Regions from separate parts of the Homo sapiens genome. Here region 1 is linked to region 2. The links are contacts of gene promoters, found by promoter capture Hi-C in blood cells and fetal thymus (Javierre and others, 2016). All regions are on one chromosome and are shown on one strand. Each heading gives the region's core, a stretch centred on a gene start or on the middle of the fragment in contact. The rest is flanking DNA. Distances are from core to core; before and after follow the strand shown.

The links. The method cuts DNA at HindIII sites, captures the fragments that hold promoters and counts their contacts. A CHiCAGO score of 5 or more calls a contact.
Region 1: a fragment that was not itself captured here is called in contact with the fragment with the promoter of UTP23 in region 2 in 1 of 17 cell types (total CD8 T cells); the score reaches 5.1 in total CD8 T cells.

What each region holds. Positions count from the first base shown.
Region 1 is chr8:116,888,849-116,893,915 of GRCh38, forward strand. No RefSeq gene overlaps it. Among named protein-coding and RNA genes, the nearest start is that of MIR3610, 17 kb to the left of the region's middle. The HindIII fragment of the contact is 9,463 bases long and covers 1-5,067 here.
Region 2 is chr8:116,763,752-116,768,467 of GRCh38, forward strand. UTP23 (UTP23 small subunit processome component) reads left to right here and starts at 2,773. Exons shown (of 3, transcript NM_032334.3): 1 at 2,773-3,040. The coding sequence starts at 2,853. It also overlaps a transcript of EIF3H not described here. RefSeq lists enhancers at 2,690-2,839, 2,850-3,159. The HindIII fragment of the contact is 9,967 bases long and covers 1-3,764 here.

The DNA of each region.
Region 1 (5,067 bases), core at 2,555-5,054, 130 kb after region 2:
TCCAGTATCCTTAGACTACTGTCTTGTTGCTTCATGGACAGAACTTGGTGTTTCTCGTTCTTTCACCATTTAGACAAGAAGAAGGAAGAAAGGAGTTAATATGTGCATCTGCATTTATGAGTATCAAGCTGTTTGACAGATATTAATTGAACAATCATGTGTGTGTGTGTGTGGGGGGGCAGTGTGTCTGGCTGTGGAATTTAATAATTAGTCAAAGCATGTACAATTTTGGCCCTTTAGCAAATCTTACAGATCCAAACATGAGACTTCGTCCTAGAAATTTCTTTTTCACCTTATACATGCCTGATTACACAGAGGGTCATTCCCCAACCCCTGCACACTCATAGCAATTCTTCTGCTCTGAATCTTCCTGGTGCATTCTGGGAGTTATCCTACTTATTTATACTTACTACATAATATATTGAGGATGACATTTTATGTAACAGATTTTTTTCTGGTGCCATAATTCTCTAATATAAAATCCTTAAAAACATAATATATATTGGTAACAAAGATTTTATTCTCTTTCTCTAGTCTCCCTCTCTGCTAAATCTAATAAATGATTAAATAATAGGAAACTGCAGTTCTTAAAGGGCAGTCTCTTTGTTGTTAGGATCTGATTTCCATTTGAGCAGTGGAAGATTTAATGTTGCAATTGCAAAGAGAGAATCTCTCTTTTATTAACTTTTATACAATTTCTCATTATCTAATTTATAACTTTGAAGGGACTATTCATTCCTTCTGTACTTTTTTGGACCACTTTTTAAAAACTTATGAAATAACTCTTTAAATAAATAGAAAAAACACAGGGTCAAGTGCAGTGGCTCATGCCTGTAATCCCAGCACTTTGAAAGGCTGAGGCTGAGGCTGGTGGATCACTTAAGCTCAGGAGATCGAGACCAGCCTGGGCAATGTGGCAAAACCCCATCTCCACCAAAAATACAAAATGAACAAACAAATAGCCGGTTGTGGTGGTGCATGCCTGTGGTCCCAGCTACTCAGGAGGCTGAGGTGGAAGGATTGCTTGAGCCTGGGAGGCAGAGGCTATAGTGAGCTGAGATTGCACTCACAATGAAACAGTGTGATAAAAGTACAAAAAATTAACCCATGTATTGTTTAATAACTTTGCATTGCTAACTTTCAAATATTTCTGAAAGAAAACATATCGGGCCTATTCATCCTCTGCTCTCTCCAACTTCATTTGCTTTCTACATTGTGAAATCTCCTGTTTCCAGATTTAGTTCTTCAGAGAAGCAGCCTGTCCTTGGCTTGTCTGTTTGATGTTATGTAAATAATGGATAGAATTTTCCCTGTCCATGTTTTTTCTGAGATGGTTTTCTCAAAAAAATTTCCATTTCAAAAGCAAACTCCACAAATACACAAAAAATAACTAAACATGGAAAGAGGTTTAGTTGCCTTAGATTGTGCAAAAGACTAGAAGTAACCGCCAGATTCTCAGCCCCTGATTGTCCCAAATCACACGTCATCAACTGACTAACCAGAAAAGGAAAACAAGCCAGTTGCAGATGAAAGAAGATTTGATTCTAATACAGATTGTAAACCCACAATGACTGTTTTATAAGCAAAGAGTCACTTTTGTGACTGAATTTGAGTTTTCCACTGCAATGTTTCTTGAAAATTCCTAAAATATCATACATTATACATTATGCCAAACACTCAACTATTGAGCGGCAAGATTTTATTGTTTTTGGGAACACTCTTAACAGGCATTGGTAGGAAATGCAAAGAATTCCAGAAACAGAGCTGGACTGGAAAGAACACATTTATCATTAGTTCCATAAATCTATGTTTCTTAGGATTAGAAGAGGAATTTCTTGGACTGAGTAGGTTTTAAATATTCTGAGCCATTGGCAGAGGGAGCTAGGATTGTTCTGTGATGTTGTGAAATACATATTTGATCTTCATTCCATTTCCTGGAGTACAGCTCCTAAAATCCTTGGAATCTCCTGAGTGATAAGAGTTTTTTTTCTTTGTATGTTACTGAGATAACAGTGGCTAAGAGCACCTAGGTAGTTTCAGGATGGGGGTCACTGGAAAGACCAAGGCATGATTAGAGAGTTGGGAGTTTCAGCCTCCCCAACCCTACTCCCCAATCCCTGCAAGCAGCAGAGAAAGGCTGAAGGTTAAGTTGATCACCAATGGCTAATAATGTAATCAATCATGCCTATGTAATGAAGCCTCCATAAAAACCCAAAAGAATAGTGTTCAGAAAGGCTTCTGGATTGCTGAACACGTGGAGGTGTCTGGAGGGTGATATGCCCACAGAGGGCATGGAAATTTCACTTTCCTTTCCACATACATTGCCCTATGAATGTACTCTGTCTGGCTATTCATCCATATCTTTTGTAATATCTTACAGTTCATTTTGTTTGTGGGATCATATAAACTTGGGCTTGACTTATTGTTGTCATTTTATTTTCCTGATACTTTGTTTTCTTGTTGTGAAATGGGGATACAATACTTTATTAGTTGGGGCTCAGTTGTAGGTGACAGGAAACATTAGGATAATCAGAAAAGAAAGAGGTTAATCATGGGGAAGAGCTGGTTTTAGGCTATGTCTCTGGGATTGACTTCCAGAATGTCAACCAAGAACCAGCTCACCAAAGAAAGGGCTACCTCTGCAACCTTCAGAAAGCTGGGGAGTCAGGAAGACACTATCCCAAACTCTTGATTCCAGCGTCAGACCACCTTAGCTATGAACTGGAGTAAGAAGCTGCCACCAGCATTATAGACTCAGAGTCACATGGTGCATACAAATCCATTCAAGCAAAATGTATGTCACTGGCATCCCTACTTTCCTTCCTTTTATTTACTGATTAATGCAATACATATTTACTGAATTGTAGTAAAGAAGTAAAATATGTAATACATTAGAAAGAGATAAACGTAATACATTAGAAAGGGATAAATGCAATGACGAAAAGTAGTGTAGGAAATGGGATTACAGAAAATTGACAGCATCGGCCTTAGTCTGTTCGTGTTGCTATAAAGGAATACCCGAGGCTTGATAATTTATATATTTAAAAAAGAGGTTTATTTGGCTCATGGTTCTGCAGGTTGTACAAGAAGCATGATGTCAGCATTTACTTTTGGTGAGAGTTTCAGACTACTTCCACTTGTGGCAGAAGGAGAAGTGGAGCTGGCATGTACAGAGATCACATGGTGAGAAAAAAAGTGAGAGAGAAAGAAGGAGGTGTCAGGCTCTTTTTAACAACCAGCTGTTGTAGGAACTAATAGAGCGAGAACTCACTCATTACCTAGAACTCACTCATTACCTCAAGGATGGCACCAAGCCATTCATGATGGATCCACCTCCATGACTCAAACCCCTCCCACTAGGCCCCACCCTGAACATTGGGGATTATATTTCAACATGAGGTTTAGAGAGGTCAAGTATCCAAACCATAGCAGAGTCAAAGAAGACCTCCTTCAGAAGGTGATATTTATGTGAATATCTGAAGAAGGTGAGAGGACGAACCATGTGAGTCTTTAGGGGAGAAGTGTCCAGGAGAGGGAGGAGAAAATGCAAAGGCTCTGAGACAGGAGATTCCCTGGAAGGCAAGCAAAAGCAAAGAGGCCAGCATGGAAGGAGTGGAGTGAGTGAGGGAATGAGCCTGCTGTCAGAAATTCACATTGATTTCAAAGTAGAAATTTCCTAAGTAACTATTGCTTGGTTTTCTATATAGACAGTGTATAAGTATTTTAAACTAAAATATTCAAAGATTTTGATATAATTTAAATGAATATATGCTCCTTTAAATGAAAGGACAGAGCTACCAATATCACTATATTTGAAGCTACTGTTATTTTAAATAATAATCCGTGCTATTAACAATGTCATTATCTGGTTTGGTTTTTCTTTTTCCTCTTTTGGAGACAGGGTCTCACTCTGTTGCTCAGGTTGGAGTGCAGTGGCATAATCATGGCTCACTACAACCTCCACCTCCCTCCCACCTCAGCCTCCCAAATAGCTGGGACTACAGGCACATGTTACCACACCCAGATAGTATTTTTTGTATTTTTTTTTATAGAGACAGGGTTTTGTCATATTACCCAGGGTGGTCTTGAACTCTTGAGCTCAAGCAATCCACCTGCTTTAGCCTCCTGAAGTGCTGGGATTACAGGCATGAGTCACCATGCCTGGCCTTTTTTCCTTTTTTTATAAGACTTTTTTTAATCATAAAAAAAAGTCTGTCTTTGATGTGACTTTTTCATGTAGAATTAATGAGTTACATGATTGACTTCTACCTTTTGAAAGATTCTTACAGGCTTCATTTTTATAATAGCACAGTTATAATAGCTGAAAAAAATCTGAGTATAGCTTGTCAGATTCATCACTGAAATATGTTTTAAGGGTGCGGAATAATAAGTAGGCTGGCTTTGACACACTGCTTTTTTTCAATGGAAGGCTAAAAGTGAGAAAATAAACTCATTTCTGTAGGAGATAGAGATTTACATTTGTTTTCCTTTGACAAAATACTCCATTCTCACACATTATACACCATTTTAAGAAGATTAGTATTTGTCTGAGACAAAGTGATCTTAGACTTTCAGTTTAAATGGTGGCATAGAAGCAAGCTGGTCTTACTACCCCACCTCCTTGCCAGAAAACCAAAAACAAATATACAGCAACAACCCAGAATCAAATATGAGGATGAGACAGATCCTGGGGACACAGAGAAATGAGAGTACTTTGAGCAGATGGTGGGAGAATCAGACTTTCACATCCATGACACCCCATCCCCCCATTCTGCCTGGCAACTAGCACCTGGAAAATCTTCTCCAACTCATGGTTTCTACAAGGGAAGGAGTGAGATTGAGATGGCCAACCAGCTTTTCTACCATCTTGGATATCTTGGGAGGAGACCTGTTATTGTCTTAACCCAAGGGAAGCACTGTGGCTGCCTGAAGGGAGAAACTTCACAGAGGACAGGTGAAGACAAAGGAGGGAAGTGGAACTACCACCCCCAGCCCTGGAAACTCTGCTCTGCAACTTGGCAAAAGAAGACATCAAATCAGAATGGTTGTTCAGGAGCATCACACCAT
Region 2 (4,716 bases), core at 1,523-4,022:
TGAATATAAGGAAGAATAATACCACAATAGATATGTTAGCTAAATTGTCTAACATTTACGAAATTAAACAAAATTATACTAACATTGATGAAATTCAACAAAGTAACCTTTATGAATTATATTTAATGTTTACCTCTTTAATTCCATTTAGGCCATGAATCTTTCATGAGAAAGTCCTATTTGGGAATTAGTCATACGTTTCAAAAATAAATTATTCTCATGTCAACTTGGCTTCATCAAAATTTCATGAAGAAAAAAACTTCAAAATCATGTACAACAGCATAATATTATAAAACTATATTTGATCCAGACATAATAAAATGAAGAACATAAAAAATAAAGAAAAATAAATTAATCGCCTACTTACTCCAGCTGAATGTGGATTTCTATTTGGCATGGAAAATGTCCAGTGGACTGACCTGAGAAAAAAGCTAAAAACTAGCAATGCTGTTATAAATTATTGTTCCTTCAGTATAAGGTCAAAAAAATTTCAATGAATATTAAATATTTTAATAATGACATAACTTTCAAAATAAAATTTCAGATTTAAATTTATATCCAAATGGTTCACTCAATAATGGCAGTATTTGGCTTCTGCCTTGGTTGTGGCTAAATATTGATTTTCCATTACAGATCATTTGGCATCTAAACAAAAGTGTATTAAGTGGACCAATTAATAAAAATATCTTATTGGATAAACGATGCTTTATTACAAAAAAGGTCCTTCAGGAACACTAATGAGCATAATAATGATTTGGGGAGATTGTAATAAATGTCACTTCCTCTTTGAATAGTACCCCTCTCCCTCAATACTTATTCTGAATCAGAAATGGGCATTTTAAACAAGCACACTAAGAGCTTTTTCTGCATATCCCAGGACCTTGTTTTGAGAAACACTGCTGTAATAGAAAACTCTATTTTTTTCTCTTTTTGTCTTCTTTTAATTTAGCAGAGACAGGGGCTCCCTATTTTGCCCAGGCTGGTTTCCAACTCCTGGGCTCAAGTGATCCTCCCGCCTCGGGCTCCCGAAGTTCTGGTATTACAGGCATGAGCCACCATGCCCGGCCGAAAACTTTGTTTTAAACTTGATAATCACCATTATAGACCATCTTCATGTTTTCATAATAAAGATAGGGTGCAAACTGGCACTGTCATATACATAGAGCTTGGGGAAAAAATGTGCTGTAGCTTGGTAAATTAAAAAACGACAACAAAAACTAAGATAAGACTAAAATCCCTAGTGCTGCACCACATTTTTCTTAGTACTGAAAAGTGGCCAAGGAGCTGGTAGATAAATCTGAGGCTATTTAAGAAAAAATGTTTTAACTGTTTTGCAAGACTCAGGTGGTATCTCGTTTCTCTGTCTGTGGTGGGCGCATAGTTGGAGTAGAGAGTTGGCATACAGGGATAAAAAGAGGATTCAAATTGAAAAGTACTGAGCAATTACACTCAAAGACCTTGAATCCAACCCTGCAAAAGTTTTCATGGCTTCCAATTCCTAAATTCATTTTAAGTTTAAATGAAAGCAACCATCTAAGTGATGTGCTGGGACTCAGATCAGGGCTAACATTATAGATCTTATTCCAATTTCATAAACCTACATATTGAAATAAAACCCCAAATGCAAACAATGCATTCAATCACGTTGTAAATCATTTTCTGTGCTGGTTCTTTCAATCTTTAGCCAAAACTAGATCTGGGACAGATTCCAGGCAAGGACAAAAATGCAAAATTCCATACTCCCCATTCTTTGATTATTTTACCTTGAAGTGGATACTCGACAGTTAGCCACGGGAGAACTTGAAATTTTCTGATTCATTCTCCTCATTAATCAAATTGACCAAGTAATTTTTAAACCTCCAGTCAGCTTTGTGCCTTCCTGTTACTGGCCCAGTATGTAGTCTTCCTATGTCAGAGACCATGCACATAAAAAGAGTACTTGAAACTTATCTAGACCTACAACCAGTTTGACAGTGAGGAAGTTGAACCCAGCTTTCTTCGGGAGTTGCCCAAGATCAAACGGCTTGGGTTTGTGGCAAAACCAGGACTCAAGGTTAGGAATTCTGACTCTAGGCAAACGAAGCTCTTGAGAGTTCTTCCAAAACACTCCATGCGAGTGATTTAGGATGGTCCTAAGGCAGGAGGAAATGCAAAATGGTGGCACCCTTTGCCCTGACAAATGGTTCCTGAGTGACGTTAGTTTCTATGGTGGTGTAGCAAGAACATTTGAACTTCAGGCACGAAAACTGGGTTCCAGACACTAACAAACTACGTGCCCTTCGTGAACGTGCTTAATTTCTTTATGGGAAAGCAGCCAGTACAAACCTCCCCACTCATAGCTATCCAATATATCATTTCCTTCTTTCACTTGGGAATTATAAACATTCAGGGGAATAATGTAAGGTAAATCACTTAGGACAGTGTCTGGAACATATTAAGGCTCAATATTATCACTGACTACTACTATACTGCCAGTCTTTCAGAGAAGCTCTTGCTACGCGCCTCTAAAACGTAGGTAACACGCTAAATGTATTCTCGTAATTTTCTTTTACCGTGGCCCCAGACTGCGCATGTGCGCCCCCGTGCGGAATCGCGCACCCCAGCGGTTTTCCAGCGTACGCACAAGTTCCGCCCTAAGGGACCGCCCCTTTAAGCGCGGGCACTGCGGTGGAAGCGCGCGCTGGTCTGGACATGACGTAAACCAATGGGCAGGCCCGGAAGACAGAGGCGTTTGCTTCCGTGGCCAAAGGCGCTTCATTTCCGGGTGAAACTGGCATTGAGGGTACTGGGGCGTGCGTGAGGCGTTTACTGATGCTTCCTGGTCCGGTGGCCTCGGTCCCGGTAAGCCAGGCATGAAGATCACAAGGCAGAAACATGCCAAGAAGCATCTTGGCTTCTTCCGCAACAACTTCGGAGTCCGCGAGCCGTACCAGATCCTGCTGGACGGCACCTTCTGTCAGGCGGCGCTGCGGGGCCGCATCCAGCTGCGGGAGCAGCTGCCCCGCTACCTCATGGGGGAGACGCAGCTGTGCACCACAAGGTGGGCCCGGGGGGCTGGGGAGGAGGCACAGAGGGTCCGTCGGGTGTTGTAGAGGCGAGGCCGTTGCTCACAGACCTTCATTGCGAGCTCAGGAGGTGCAAAACGCCCCGCCCACGTGGAGTTGACAGTTAAGTGGAGAGGTGAAGGTGGTCAGGCGAATACCTATAATAGAGGCAGATTGGACAGTGCCCTGTGAATATCACGTGTCGTTAGCCTGGCGAATGAGAGCACATTATAGCAGAGAGATCCGACTTCGAATCTTGATCCCAGTTCTACCAGCTCTGTGATTTCTGTCAAGTTATTTAGCCTCTCTGAGCCTCGGATTCCTCATTTGTAAAATAAAGATGATAACTGCTTAGAAGATTGCTGTAAGCTCAAACGAGTATAGTGTACTAGAGCATTTTTCGGTATCCAAAGTGTACCCGTCTTCAAATGGTTGCTGTCATTTGCATAGCTTTTCTTAGTTTAAACCAAAACTCTGCAAGCCTCACAGTGAACCTGTGAGTTACCATCTTTGATGTCCAGGGCAAAAAGTCAGTACTTGAGATTAAGGAATCTGCCCAAGCACATTTGTTTATTCAACTCGCTTTATTAAGTACCTCCTATATGCCACATACTGCTCCCTCATGGCCAGTAAAGTGCATAAGTCAGTCTGCAGTGTGTGTTTTCACTCTAGGTCTGATGTTTCCCCACTTCATTGAAATGTGGGAACACTTAGGATGGAAGCTTGTCGGGATGAAGAGGAGAGAGGAGAGAATTGTGACAGATTTCAGATAACATTTGAGCCCATTCACTTGTTCAGTTCTGAGAGGAAGAACTATTTTGAATGACAGAAAAGAATGACACTTCTTGTTGTGGAGACCTCTTCACACGAAATGGAGTTATGAAATGCCTGGGAAAGAGGTTGCAGCACAGAATATATTTGGGAGTGAAACTAGGAAGAAGGCAAATTGAGGCTAGGCCATGAAGAACTATTAAGAAATTTAGTAGTTTTTTCATTGTAGAATATTTACTTTTAAAAAGCAAAAAAAGAAAATTAAAATGACTCATAATACCACTACTCACGAATAATCACTGTTAACATGTGCAGTGTCATCCATCCAGTTCTTTATACACACTCACACAAGCACAAGAATGGACTTTTAAGCCAGGCAAGGTGGCTCACACTTGTAATCCTAGTAGCTACACAGGAGGCTGAGACAGGAGGGTTGCCTGAGTCTAGGAGTTTGAGGTGAGCCTGAGCAACGTAGGAAACCCCCATCTCTAACTACAGCCATAACAAAGTATGGGCTTTTTCTGTGTATACTGTGTTAATAGTCTCCTTTTCCTCACATACGATTACTTAATGAACAGCTATCTGTATTTGTTCAGAATTTCTCAAGCAGGGTCTCGGCTGGGTTACAGATACCCCCAAAGTTTTGATCCCCTTAGTCTTTAGGGCTGTCTAACAAATCCTTCAGTAGTCTTTGCTCCTGAATTGATTGCTTTTGTCTACAAGCAATTTGTCCATATACTCCTGTGTGCCATAGAAATATTAACATTTTAAATATAGTGCTATGATATTAAAAAGGTTGAGAAGTGCCACATAAAATTATATTCTACAGCAATTTTTCTAACAAATTTATTTTAACTCTGGAATTTTTCAGACAACTCAAAGGTAGAATAATATAATGAAA